Linked DNA regions of Homo sapiens: regions 1, 2, 3 and 5 are each linked to region 4. Evidence: promoter capture Hi-C in 16 types of primary human blood cells and fetal thymus (Javierre and others, 2016). All regions are on one chromosome and are shown on one strand. Each heading gives the region's core, a stretch centred on a gene start or on the middle of the fragment in contact. The rest is flanking DNA. Distances are from core to core; before and after follow the strand shown.

Evidence for each region. The method cuts DNA at HindIII sites, captures the fragments that hold promoters and counts their contacts. A CHiCAGO score of 5 or more calls a contact.
Region 1: a contact is called between a fragment that was not itself captured here and the fragment with the promoter of CDKN1B in region 4, in 1 of 17 cell types (total CD8 T cells). The highest score is 5.7, in total CD8 T cells.
Region 2: a contact is called between a fragment that was not itself captured here and the fragment with the promoter of CDKN1B in region 4, in 2 of 17 cell types (non-activated CD4 T cells and naive CD8 T cells). The highest score is 8.9, in non-activated CD4 T cells.
Region 3: a contact is called between the fragment with the promoter of CLEC2B here and the fragment with the promoter of CDKN1B in region 4, in 2 of 17 cell types (non-activated CD4 T cells and total CD4 T cells). The highest score is 8.8, in non-activated CD4 T cells.
Region 5: a fragment that was not itself captured here is called in contact with the fragment with the promoter of CDKN1B in region 4 in 1 of 17 cell types (naive CD8 T cells); the score reaches 5.1 in naive CD8 T cells.

Annotation. Positions count from the first base shown.
Region 1 is chr12:10,383,620-10,386,319 of GRCh38, reverse strand. All of the region lies in intron 8 of KLRC4-KLRK1 (KLRC4-KLRK1 readthrough), which reads left to right. All of the region lies in intron 3 of KLRK1 (killer cell lectin like receptor K1), which reads left to right. The region is part of intron 3 of KLRK1-AS1 (KLRK1 antisense RNA 1); the gene reads right to left. Among named protein-coding and RNA genes, the nearest start is that of KLRK1, 5.1 kb to the left of the region's middle. The HindIII fragment of the contact is 5,161 bases long and covers 1-2,700 here.
Region 2 is chr12:14,957,269-14,959,968 of GRCh38, reverse strand. All of the region lies in intron 1 of ARHGDIB (Rho GDP dissociation inhibitor beta), which reads left to right. Among named protein-coding and RNA genes, the nearest start is that of ARHGDIB, 3.0 kb to the left of the region's middle. RefSeq lists an enhancer at 1-25. The HindIII fragment of the contact is 2,551 bases long and covers 53-2,603 here.
Region 3 is chr12:9,868,104-9,870,849 of GRCh38, reverse strand. CLEC2B (C-type lectin domain family 2 member B) reads left to right here and starts at 1,496. Exons shown (of 5, transcript NM_005127.3): 1 at 1,496-1,645. The HindIII fragment of the contact is 5,556 bases long and covers 1,382-2,746 here.
Region 4 is chr12:12,715,918-12,718,617 of GRCh38, reverse strand. CDKN1B (cyclin dependent kinase inhibitor 1B) reads right to left here and starts at 1,250. Exons shown (of 3, transcript NM_004064.5): 1 at 304-1,250. The coding sequence starts at 778. It also overlaps a transcript of GPR19 not described here. RefSeq lists silencers at 684-872, 1,297-1,866 and enhancers at 1,047-1,146, 1,227-1,276. The HindIII fragment of the contact is 7,251 bases long and covers 1-2,700 here.
Region 5 is chr12:10,613,029-10,615,728 of GRCh38, reverse strand. MAGOHB (mago homolog B, exon junction complex subunit) reads left to right here and starts at 2,120. Exons shown (of 5, transcript NM_018048.5): 1 at 2,120-2,290. The coding sequence starts at 2,197. RefSeq lists enhancers at 1,306-2,183, 2,000-2,399, 2,184-2,700. The HindIII fragment of the contact is 670 bases long and covers 1,116-1,785 here.

The DNA of each region.
Region 1 (2,700 bases), core at 117-2,616, 2.3 Mb after region 4:
TGTAAAAATCCCTTTTTGGACTAAAATATTCAATTGTTACCAAAATTTAAAACACACATGCCCTTTCCCTCAACAATTATCATTGTGGGAATTTATCCCAGAGAGAGACTCAAAAATATGCACAGATGGGTATGAAATGTATCATTATTTCTCATAGCAAGACCTAAGAAACAATTTAAATATCCACTGGAAAAAAAAATTGACAGTCCGTCAAAAATTAGATCTGTCCAGAGTTGTCAGTGAAATACAATGCAGCTATTTATAAATTTGGTATCCTTATACGCCATGAGGACTAATCACCAGGATATTGTCTTAGGTAAAAAAAAAAAAAAAATTCATAGGATATTTTGTGTATTATAGTTTCTTTAAAATGTATTTTTAATATGTAGTTAAGGGGAACGGTAATTTTTGTTTATTTTTAGTTGGCATGTAATAATTATACATATTTATGGGATACAGTGATATTTCCATTCAACTATACAATGTCTAATGACCAAATCAAGGTAATTAGCACACCCATCACCTCAACATTTATCACTTCTTTGTGTTGGGAACATTCAAAACCTTCTCTTCTAGCTATCTGAAAATATACAATAAATTACTCTTAACAGTACTCTCCCTACAGTGCTATAGAACACTAGAAAAATCCCGCATGTAGCTGTAATTTTGTATTCATTAACCAACCTCTCCCAATCTTCTCCTCCCCCCTATTCTTTCTAGCCTTAAATAACCACAATTCTACTCTCTACTTCTGTGAGCTAAAAGTTTGTATCTCCTACATATGAGTGAGAACATGTGGTATTTATCTTTCCATGCCTGATTTACTCTACGTAACATTATGTACTTCTGACTCATCCATGTTGGTGCAAATAATAGGATTTCATTCTTTTCATTCTTTTTTTTATGACTGAATGGTATTCCTCTGTGTGTGTGTGTGTGTGTGTGTGTGTGTCTGTGTGTGCTTAGCTATTTATCTGTTAATGGACACAGGTTAATTCCATATCTTGGCTATTGTGAATAATGCTGCAATAAACATGGGGGTGCAGACGTTACTTCAATATACTGATTTCCTTTCCATTGGAGAAAGACCCAGATTGCTGAGTCATATGGTAGTTATATTTTTAGTTTTTTAAGGGACCTCCATACTGTTTCCATAATGGCTATACTAATTTACATTCCCACCAAAATTGTATAAACATTAGCCTTTCCCTGCATCCTCACTGTCATTTGTTATTTTTTGTCTTTTTAAATAATAGCTATTCTAACTAGGGTGAGATGATATTCATTGTGGTTTTGATTTTCATCTTCTTGATGATGAATGATGTTGAATTTCAAAAAATATATCTGTGGCTATTTGTATATCTTCTCAGAAATATCTATTCAGATCCTTTGCTCATTTTCAAATCAGTTTTTGTTGTTGCTGTTGAGTTGTTTGAATTCCTTGTATATTCTGGATATTGGTCTCTTGTTAGAGGAATAGTTTGCGAGTATTTTCTCTTATTCTACAAGTTGTCTCTTCACTCTGTCAATTGTTTCCTATGCAGTAGAGAAGTGTGTTAGTTTGATACAATCTCATTTGTTTCTTTTTGCTTTTGTTGCCTGTACTTTTGAATTCTTACCCATAAAATCTTTGCCTAGACTAATGTCCTGTGGTGTTTCTCTTATCTCTTCTAGTAGTGTTATAGATTCAGTTCTTATATTTAAGTCATTAATCCATTTTGAGTTGATTTTTGTATATGGTGTGAGATGAGGGTCTAATTTCATTCCTCTATGTGGATATCCAGTTTTTTCAGCTTCATTTATTGAAGAGGCTCTCCTTTCCCAGTGTATGTTATTGGTGACTTTCTGGAAAAATCAGTTGGCTATAATACATGGATTTATTCCTGGGTTGTCTATTCTGTTTTATTGGTCTAGGTGTCTATTTTTATATCAATGCCATACTGTTTTGGTTGTTGTAGTTTTGTCGTATATATTGAAGTCAGGTAACGTGATGCCACCAGTTTTCTTCATTTTTGTTCAAGATTGCTTTGGCTATTCAGTCTTTTGTGGTACCATATAAATTTTAAGATATTTTTCTATTTCTGTAGAGAATGTTACTGGTATCGTGTTAGGAATTGCACTGAATCTGTAGATTGCTTTGAGTCATATGATTACTTTAACAATATTCTTTCTGTCTATGAACATGAGATGTCTTTCCATTTTTTTGCATCCTCTTTGGTTTCATTCATCAGTATTTTACAGTTTTCATTGTAGAGGTCTTTCACTTGTGTGATTAAATTTATTCCAGGGTATTTTATTATTTGTAGGTATTACAAATGGAATTGACTTCTTGATTTCTTTTTCATCCAGTTTGTTATTGGTGTATAGAAACACTACTGATTTTTGTATGCAGATTTTTGATCCTGAAACTTTACTGAATTTGTTTATTTGTTCAAAGGCATGTTGTTTAATTTTCATGTATCTGTGCAGTTTCCAAAGTTCCTCGTTATCAATTTCTAGTTTTATTCCATTGTTGTCAGAAAATTTACTTGATATAATATTGACTTTTGGAAATGTTTTGAGACTTATCACCTAGCATATGGTCTGTCCTGATGAATGTTCCATGTGCTGATAAGAAGAATGTGTATTTTGCAGCAGTTGGATGAAATGTTCTGTACATTTAGTTAGGTTCATTAGGTCTATATTATAGTTTTACTCTGA
Region 2 (2,700 bases), core at 79-2,578, 2.2 Mb before region 4:
TTTTTTAATTTGTAAGAATATATTCCCTCCCAAAGCAGATATAGCACAAGCTTAGTAACAAGAGCATCTTACTCTTTTGTGAGATGTGTGAAATTCTAAGAGACAGTTCTTTCTCCATCCATGCTTCACAGATGCAAAACCTGAGGACTAACTATGCTGTCACTGAACAGAAACTGGCAAGCATTTTTCAGGCCTCGACTGGAATTTGGTCCTTCCTTGCTTTGGAGAGCATGAGTTTGTCCCCTAGGGAAGTTAGCTCTGAGCAACATTAAGGTTCTGTTTTCAGTAGACACTCAGCACCACAAAGTCATTCTGAGGGAAAGATACGGGTCTGAGCTGATTTGGGAGAGCACAGTACATGACAAACATCAGCTAGCAGGAAAAGAGAAGCCCTGGGGAGTCGAAATTATGCAGATAGAAAAGGAGAACCAACATTCATTGAGTGCCTTCTATGTGTCAGGCCTGGTGATAAAAACTTTCAAATTTTGTTCCTGAGAAGAATGCAGAAGTGTTCAATAATTTGACTAAAATTACATACTGATACAAAAAGGATCAATAGCCACAATGCCTCTGAATTGCAATTCACAGGGCATGGTGGTGCGTGCCTGTGGTCCTACCTACTCAGGAGGCTCACGTGATCCTCCCGCCTCAACCTCCCGAGTAGCTGGGACTATAGGCGCGCATCACCACGCTGGCTAATTTTACCATTTTTAGTAGAGACGGGGTTTCTCCATGTTGCCAGGGCTGGTCTTGAATTCCTGGGCTCAAGCAATCCGCCTGCCTTGGCCTCCCAAAGTCCTGGGATTAAAGGCGTGAGCCACCATGCATGGCCTATTATTATTTTTTTGAGACAAGTCTCACTCTGTCACCCGAGCTGAAGTGCAGGGGCGTGAACGCAGCTCACTGCAGCCTCGACCTCCTGAGGCTCAGGTGATCTCCCACATTCTTTAGGAAGAATCACATGGAAGAAATTTTCTCCAATTCCATATTTTGAGAGTTCTTATTCCTGGTTTGTGTTATTGCTGCCCGGGATCCTGTATTCAAGGCTACACTGGCATACCCAGAGATGAGTCTCATGTTGCCCCTGAAACGTCAGCAACATTTATCTGTGCAATAAGCACATCCTGAATCATCCTGTGTTGTGTTACTCTCTGGTGTCCACAGCCAAAGAGTGAATTTTACCGCTGGTAAAAATTCACTTGGGCTTTCTTAAAGAGCCTAATAATCTTAGCACAAACGGTCATAAAAAAAATTCTCTCTCAATTCTGTCTAACTTTTCATGCTAATTTAAAACTTTTGTGAATATATTGAGATACTGAAGGCAATGGCTTCCTTAATGCACAGTTTTCTTTGAGAATTATTTAAAATAATATTTGTGAAGGTACTTGGTGGCATGACTTCACACGTTGGGCACTCAGCAAAGCTCACGGGATCTCTTTGAGTTCTCTCTCTTTGTGCATATGAATGTGGGTTAGAAAAACACACTAAAAAATGCACAGGCAAGAAATAATAAATTGTTTCTCTCACAAAGACAAATGGTAAGAAATTACGTTTCTAGTAATTTGTGCCCTTCTCTGGATTGATTACAATATTTATTGTCTCTTACAAAATAATCTTGTCTTTGGTTTTTCTCATCCAGTTTTGAAGTTTTCGTAGTCCTTCATGGGGCTGAGGTGGTAGAAAGCAGCACCGCAAAGTGGGGAGTATGGATTCCTCCATGTCACCAGGGACAGGGGCGGTGGGGAGAGGGTGGAATCCCGAACCAAGAAGGCTTCTGGTGTCCTGAGAGACAAATTTGCAATCCCGTAATACACCAAATTGCCAGGCAAGCAGCACAGCACATTCAAATCCTTGACTAGCTCTGAAATGTCAACAGTGTTTTAGAGATGGCCTGACTCTCCAGACCTGCACTAGACCCACAGCCCGATTTGGGGGAAGTCAGACATATCCTAGTCAGCAGGGAAAGTGGAGGTAGCAGGAGTTACAGAGAATGCTGATGCTCACATAGGAACTTCTCTGATAGAAATCCCCTACTTCTGGTATTTCCACTTTTCTCTCTCTCTTCCCTCTCTCTCTTTCTCCCTTCTCCCTCCTCTCTCTCTCCTCTTTCTCTCTCCCTCTTTCCCCTCTTCCTTCTCTCTCTCTCATCGCTATCTCTTCTACCTAATACATTAATATCCATGGCCTGTGTGTCTAGATGCATAATCCAGCACAATTTTGCAGATCCAGCTTTGGGCCGTGAGTTAAGTCTCTGTGGTATTTTGCTCCAGAGCCAGAGGGAATTCTCTTCATTAGCTGTGCCTGTGTTCACTGACATTTCTCATCATTCGCAGAGTGACCTCTGGCTTCAATGAAGACAGGGAGCAATAAATAAAACCTAAAATTAAATTGTTTACATGAAAGTTTTTAAAAGAAATATAATATAGTCTCATTTTAAGGTTGATTCAGTTTTTAAACAATCCTTTCAATTCCCCAGAACTTCTTATCTCTTTAATACTCCTCAAAGACAAAAATCTATTTTTAAGGAGGAAGGAGTGGGGACATAGCTCCCATCCAGGGGAAAGTATTTGGTGTGGAAACAGTTACCTAGCTTCAGTGAAGCTTTGCAACAAAGCAGACCACACTGGGGCAGGGAAGGAAGAAGAGGAAGGGAACAAATATTCACGGAACATCTATTCTTGACCAGTATAGTCCTATAAT
Region 3 (2,746 bases), core at 247-2,746, 2.8 Mb after region 4:
ACGTGTCAATAGAAAAACTTTTGCATAAATGTTTATTTTGACCTTATGATATCCAAGAAGTGGAAAAAGCTCAATGTCATAATGGATACATTTTATTATAAAATAGATAAAAATATTTTATGTCTGTACAATGAAATACTACTCAGTAATAAAAAGAAATTAACTGCTGATCTGTGCAAAAACATGGATAAAACTCAAAAACATTATGCTCAGTGAAAGACATCAGACTTACAAGAATTGCCAACTGTATCATTCTGCTTAACAGGAATTTCTAAAACCAGCAAAGCTCATGTTTATTGACAGTAAGTTGGCTGCTGCCTGGCTTCAGGGGTGAGGATGAACTGCAAAGCAACAGCGGGGAACATTTCCCTGTGTTGAAAATGTTTTATATCTTAACTGTTGTATCTTGACTGTTTTCCTTTTTGGAACAAAACTAAATTTCACTCAACCATACTTGAGTAATCTCTATATTTTTCTATACATGCTTTTCTAATAGTTCTTTGGATACAATCTTTTGTTAACAACAAAGGTAGAATATATTCATTTCCTCATGAATTTTCTGTCTTTTTTTTCTGTCCAAAAATGAAAAGAGCAATTTTGTTATCTGTCCTTTCCTTCTGCCCAGAAATGATTAAACCTGTATTTCTTATTCTCTTCATATTTTCTTTGTTTTAATTCCTTTGTACTACAGTTTCTTCTCTATTCTCATTTGCTTTTCCTCTTCAAGTTTCTCTCTCAGAACAAATGCAGTGTTAATCCCGAAGCCGCTTGCGGGACACTGGCTTCTTCTCCTCAGTTTCCTCCCTAATATATTTGTTGAGGGGTAATACAAAATCACTGGGAAACTGATTAGAGCAGATTTGAAGACAAAATTGTGGCCTGGTAACTTAGCAAAAGCATAATGGTGTCATCTTGTATGCTGATGATAACGTTCTGGGCACTTTGTTACTTTCGTTTTCTTTTTTCCCTCTGTGTGTCTTTGTGTGTGTTTGTGTGTGTGCTCACACCCACACGTGTGACTTTGCACGCATTTGTCTTTGAGAGAGAGATAATAGTTTTTGTTTTTCTTTCAGTAGCCAAAGTTTAAACCATTGCTTTTTCTTTGATTCTATCGCTTTTAAGGTGATCTTTCTTAACACAGGATAAGAAAGCAGTAATGTCCTAAAGAATGCTGTTGAATTAATTAGTATCAGCCTCTCCTACAGTTCTGGAAGGATACGTGGTTAAGTACCACTCCTGGATGAATCAGAAAAACAGCCACTTGAGCAATTTCGTGTTCTGTGGTTCAGATGAGAATCCCAGTTGAGAAAGTAAGAAAATATGTGTTTATTCTTCAGCTTTAAATTGTTATATCACAAACTTCCTTCCTCCTTGGCAAGCTTTCTTTTTTGACGAGAAGAAAATTGTAATAAACAACAGTATGACTAATAGATAGTCACATGGTTACTTCCAGTTTGCAAAATGCTATTTATACTTTGAGTTACTCTTCAAAAGTGGTATACCTCTAGTTTGGAGCTGTGCTGTAAAAACAAGAGTAACATTTTTATATTAAAGTTAAATAAAGTTACAACTTTGAAGAGAGTTTCTGCAAGACATGACACAAAGCTGCTAGCAGAAAATCAAAACGCTGATTAAAAGAAGCACGGTAAGAACATTTTTGTTTGTTTAGAATGACCGTTATTTATTGAAATTGTGATGCAGAATGTTAAAGCCTTCGAGAAAAGAATTAAATTTTGTGGTTTCTTTTGTGAAACTAGAAAATTCCTTCTTATAACAAGATTGAGATTTGCATATGACTGTTTTGTCCTAATAAATTCAGACTTACTTTACATTATTTGAATTACAATGGAGAAGGATTAACCATGACTTAAAACTGCTCAAGATTTAGTTTCATTTTTACTAAGTATTTTATAAAACAAATACTTGAGAAGATGATAGATATGATCCAGATACTCATACAGTTCTCAGAATGCATACATAATATGATAAATTTAGCCAATAGTTCTAATATTTTTAAAGATTGCTTTATTGGATGGTGTAAAGATACTCCGGGCTTTAGGAGTACTTAACGGAAAGAATATATCCCTTTCCTACTCTTACTAAGGAATTGCTAGTACTCCGATATCCATGGAGATGTCTTTACCAACCCTAAGAAGGATAAGGAAAGAAAATGTTCTAAAAAATACACTATGAAACAACCTGGTAACATTGGATTTATTAAATAGCAAGTTCGGAATATATAAGATCCAAGCTACATCTTTGAGATTTCAACAGGGTTTATTTATGTCAAAATATTTGAAAGAGAAAAGGCTGAAACTAAATGCATTCAATACAACGATCTATGATTTAGAGATTTAGGGACTGTGATGAGCTTTAAGCATTTCCCGTTTAACTAAATGTCAACCTACCAGCGTATGCTACGGTCAAAAAAATTATTGCTGTGGTACAATAGAATGCACACTTTATCCTTCCTCCCGTATTTTAACCGGTTTTATAATTCTGCCTAAAGTTAGATAAAACAGGTTTGCGGGGAATGAGATCAATATTTGATGGTAGCATAAAATATCATTTTAATCAAAAGTTTTAAGAAGGCCTTCCAGCCACTAGTAAAACCAGTGTTATTTTCTACTTTCAATCAATTGTATAAATTTATACATTTGTATATAAATACATTATATAATACAATATTATATATCATATTACATATGAATATATTTTAAAAGTTACTGAATAATATATTCAGTAT
Region 4 (2,700 bases), core at 1-2,500:
CCCTAGCCAGGAGGCGGACCGTTGATAAACATCCCAACTTTGTCACATACCTAGGAGTTGCTAGTGAGAGGGACCGCGATGTATTAAGTTAGGGAAATTATCGGATCTTACCATCTCCAGTTTCTGACTTAAAAGTCACAAACAGACAAGCAGTGGGCCAGGTAGCACTGAACACCTAAGACCAATAAAGTTAGCTCTCCCAAAGCTAAATCAGAATACGCCGAAAAGCAAGCTAAGGTTAACACCCTCCAGCAGGCAAAGCGGGGCCCCAAACACATTCTATGGTTGGGAAAGGGTCATTACCGTCGGTTGCAGGTCGCTTCCTTATTCCTGCGCATTGCTCCGCTAACCCCGTCTGGCTGTCCGACGGATCAGTCTTTGGGTCCACCAAATGCGTGTCCTCAGAGTTAGCCGGAGCCCCAATTAAAGGCGCCGCCGGGCGGCTCCCGCTGACATCCTGGCTCTCCTGCGCCGGCACCTTGCAGGCACCTTTGGGGGGCCGCGGGGGTCTGTAGTAGAACTCGGGCAAGCTGCCCTTCTCCACCTCTTGCCACTCGTACTTGCCCTCTAGGGGTTTGTGATTCTGAAAATCGAAATTCCACTTGCGCTGGCTCGCCTCTTCCATGTCTCTGCAGTGCTTCTCCAAGTCCCGGGTTAACTCTTCGTGGTCCACCGGGCCGAAGAGGTTCCTGCAGGCCGAGGGCTTGGGGTGCTCCGCCTGCCTGGCGTCCATCCGCTCCAGGCTAGGGCTCCCGTTAGACACTCGCACGTTTGACATCTTTCTCCCGGGTCTGCACGACCGCCTCTCTCGCACTCTCAAAAAAACAAAACCGAACAAAACAAAGCGCCCCTACGCAGCCCGAACCCCTCTCGGAAGCCCAGCGACTGCCCTCGGAGCCAAAAGACACAGACCCCGACGAGCCACGGCCCGAGCTCTAGGAGCGCGCAGGGGCTGCGGGGAAGCCCCGGCCCGGCCGCCGAGTCTCCGCTGATCAAATGGACTGGCGAGCGGGAGGGCGGAGAGGAGAGGGGACCAGGCAAGCGGAGAGGGTGGCAAAGCCCGTCCGAGTCTGGGCGGGTGCAAGCCCGCGGGTCCCGCGAACCCAGCCGCTCTCCAAACCTTGCCGGCGTCGGAGTCGCAGAGCCGTGAGCAAGCGGGGACAGGGGAGGGGGAGAAAAACACCCCGAAAAGACGAGCCCCCTTTTTTTAGTGGCCCAATATGGCGGTGGAAGGGAGGCTGACGAAGAAGAAAATGATTGACACGGCGAGTCTATTTAAACAGAGGAGGAGATCCATTGGTTGCGGCGGCGGGAGCCGCCCCGCCGAGGCTGGCGAGCGCGGCCTTAAGGTGGCCCCGGCGCGGTTCCGCCACCTCCCCTCGTTCCCGAGCGCGCCGCCTCCCCGAGCGCCGCCGGGAGATTGGCTGGTCGCGTGACTGCTGGAGGGGTACTGCTGCCAACAAACCTGCTCTGGCTGGCCTCGGAGAAATTAAAATTAAGACAAACAAACTAGCCAAACGGCCGGGAACCTGGGGCGGGGCCTGAGGTTCGGGGCCCGGCGCTGCGTTGGCGGGTTCGCCGCGGCGCCTAAGCCCCGACCTCCCTCCCGCTCCTCGCCCGGGAAGCCGGGACCTGGACCAGAGGACCGCGAAGGTCGCCGGCAGCTCGCTAGGAGCCGGGGTGGCGAGCTGCCCCCAGCTCGGCCCTCCCCAGCGGCCCCCACCTCGTGGTCTGCGGGGGAGGCCGCGGAGCGTTTGCTGGGGGGGCTGGGCGCCCCCCCGCCGGCGTGCCTTTGCTGGGGGCTGGTGGAGGCAGTGGGCAATGGTTCGCTCAGCCTTAACCCAGAAGTTTCTGCCATCCCTGGGGAGGCTGGGGGCCTAGGGAAGAAGCCAAAGCGAACGTCTTTCTTTTAGAAATTAGCCAGGAGTAGACGCGGCACTTATCATGAACTCAAGCTCTCCCTCAATGAAAATAAGAAAGGAACTCAAGATTAAAAAAAAAAAACAAAAAACTCTAGTCTCTCAAGTCCCTTAATAAACTTTGTAGCTGTCTCAGACACGTTTAGTTTTGAAAAACGAGGGTACACCCCTGGCCCAGGATCTTCCTTCCCAAGCACAGTTAAGGCCATGGACATTGGCTGCGTGTGGGAACTCGTCCCTTTCTACTTTTCTGTTCTTTCCCGGGATTGTAGCAGTTTCCTCTACCTGAGTCCAGCCGCCAAATACAACAGCTCCTTCCTTCCTCCACCCTTCTCTCTCACCAGATTTCACTGCTCCAACAAACTCAGAACAATATTCAGATGCTAGTGAATGCTTTCAGAGGGCTGAAGGGTGAAAATACTCCCCTCGGGGTCAAACTCCAGATGATGAAATGATTTTTAAAACACCACAACCATGTCCTAACGTCCGATACTAGTATTCCAGCGTTTCTCTTCTCCCTTTTGCAGCTGGAAATTTCTCTCTCAGTGTGGGCTTGAGCACCGTGGTGGAAGGTAAAGTAGGACGATGAGCAGGGCTGCCCTGAGACAAAGCTCAGTGGATCTTCAACTGCCTCCCCACCCCCATGCCCGGTACCCATCATCTTGGTTTGAGCCAAAGTTAATGCATTTTACTGGAAACCAACCTTCCGTTCTAATATTACACAGCAGCAAAGTTTTCTTAAGCACCTATGCTACAGATGAGCTTGATGTGTAGCTTGTTT
Region 5 (2,700 bases), core at 201-2,700, 2.1 Mb after region 4:
CTGGAACGGCTAGTCACCCTAGTGGTAAAACATGGTGCTTCCTGTTTCTTACGTACTTTCCAAAATGGTGGCCCATTGTAGGGACTGATTCATTTTTCTATATTAATAGTTATATAACTACTAATATGGACTCAAGGAAACGTGGCCCAATTTGCCTTTTTAGTCATTCTACTTGAACCTTATGCTCTAGCTATACCGAATTTCTTAGTGTTCCCCAAACATGAATTTTCACACCACTGTCTTTGCTCGGGTCATTTTCTGCCTGGAATGCTTTTTCATCCCACTGAACATACACAGAACTTACTTCTCAAGGTCCAATTCAAACACTTCCGTTGACAAGCCTTTTCCAATACTCTTTTTTCAAATTTCCCTACTCTGCAATAGAATGCTCTTGCTTCCTCTGCTGTACTACCGGCATGTTTTACACACTTTTTTTTTTTTAGACGAAGTTTCGCTCTTGTCACCCAGGCTGGAGTGCAACTGCGCGATCTCCGCCTCTCGGGTTCAAGCGATTCTCCTGCCTCAGCCTCCTGAGTAGCTAGGATTACAGGCACGTGCCACCAAACCTGGCTAATTTTTGTATTTTTAGTAAAGACAAGGTTTTGCCATGTTGGCCAGGCTGGTCTTGAACTCCTGACCTCGGGTGATTTGCCCCCTTTGGCCTCCCAAAGTGCTGGGATTACAGGCATGAGCCACTGCGCCCGGCCACATATAGGCTTTCTTTTCTTTTTCTTTTTTTTTTTTTTTTTTTTTTGAGACAGAGTTTCGCTCTTGTTGCCCAGGCTGGAATGCAGTGGCACGATCTCAGCTCACTGAAACCTCTGCCTCCAGGGTTCAAGCAATTCTCCTGCCTCAGCCTCCCGCGTATCTGGTATTACAGGCACGCGCCACCACGCCCAGCTAATTTTTTTGTATTTTTAATAGAGACGGGGTTTCACCATGCTGGCCAGGATGGCACATATATTCTTAATTATAGCAATTGCTCCCTTGTGCTGGTATTCGCCTTACGTGTTTGCTTTCTTTTCTAGACTACCAGATCAAATGGCTTATTTCTAGTTTCAAACTGTCACATAGGAAATGTTTGTTAAAACTAATGTTTTATAAAATTTAAAGCTTATTTTACATATTATCTCATTAGATCTCTCAAGAATTCTGTGAGCTTGGCAATGTAGATTGCTGTATATGCATTAGGCTGATGAACAAACAGGCTTAGAGATAGTCACTTGCCCGAGGTTAGTTAGCTGTTAAGTGTTGGGATTGAATCCCAGGTCTTCTCTCCACCACTTTCTACTAAAAATCACTGAAGGTTGTCAACCGACAGATAGGATTACTCTGTGTGTTGATAACAAAAGGGTGATCAATAATATCTGAAAAGGAAACTTTGTGTAAAAGTCTTTCCCTTACCTTAAAAACTACGCCACACTGGAGCATTCTTTCATTCCCCCAATTTAATTCTATCTGGCGAGAAACAATAATGGGCTAAACCATTATTGTATCGTAAGTCAAATTGCCAAAACTTCACAGGCTACTAAAAGTTAACCCTTATTGAATGAATTAAGAACCTTAGAAGTTCTGCTGTTAAAAAAAGCACGGTGACTGTCAGGGTTTTTCAGGTGTGGGGGGTGTGAGGGTTTTAAGAGTTGGATTCCTTTGACTTTGTCTCTATTATTATAGGCTTAGAGGTCCCGGGTAACTACCAATCGCTATCCAAAGGGAAAGCACCCTGTTAGAAATTAAGTAAGAAAAATAGTTTATATTCCCGGTCTGCCATTTCGATTCTAAGCTTTATCTTTATTTAGCTCACAGTTAAAGGGGGCATAGAGCCACACCCACCTCACAAACGCCGCAAGGATTGGGAGACCAGAAAAGTAAAAGTGACTTGCAAACCTTTAGCTCTAAGTCCATAAAAAAGACTATCATATGCTCACATTTCTAATCTTTGCTAGTATAATGTAATCTTTATTTTGAAAACAATGTGCCTCCATTCCTAGTAAAGCGAAAGTCACGGCGCTGCGACCCTCCCTTCAGCGCCTCCGGACTCTCACGCGATACTCGGCTTTCACGCTTTAGTCTAGGGCTGCACTGCAGGAGGAAGAGAAGCGCCTGTGGTGACGCACTTATTCCGCGCGATGACGTCACTGCAAGGCGCCGGGGGACACGTTGGCTGCGTTTTCGGCGGGCTTCCCGGGTACAAAAATGGCTGTGGCTAGCGATTTCTACCTGCGCTACTACGTAGGGCACAAGGGCAAGTTTGGGCACGAGTTTCTGGAGTTCGAATTTCGGCCGGACGGTGAGAAGAGGCCCACGGCACGCGGTGCTGGGAAAGGGGAGCGAGACCGAGAGGCCGGGTGGTGTGGAGGGTACAGGCGGCGGAGGCCACTGCTTCCCTCGAAGGAAATAGGAGCTTAAGAATAGAGGAGGCATAAGTTGGTTTTATAAATGAAAGAGAATTAATTGCAATAAATTAAAGCTAATCCTGTCACAAACTGAAAAGTTGAACCTACAGTAATCAGAATTCTGTAACAGTGCACCAGAAGGGACTCTAGATCGTCGCCCTGATTGAAAATGCTAGCACTTTTTTGAAAACACCCCCACCAGCGGGTGGTCCAGTGGATGAATAAAATCTTGTGGTGACCAGTACCTTTTTTTCATTTAGGCTGTGTGTTTTCTTTGAAGGGGAGGAGCCCAACGTGTTAACAA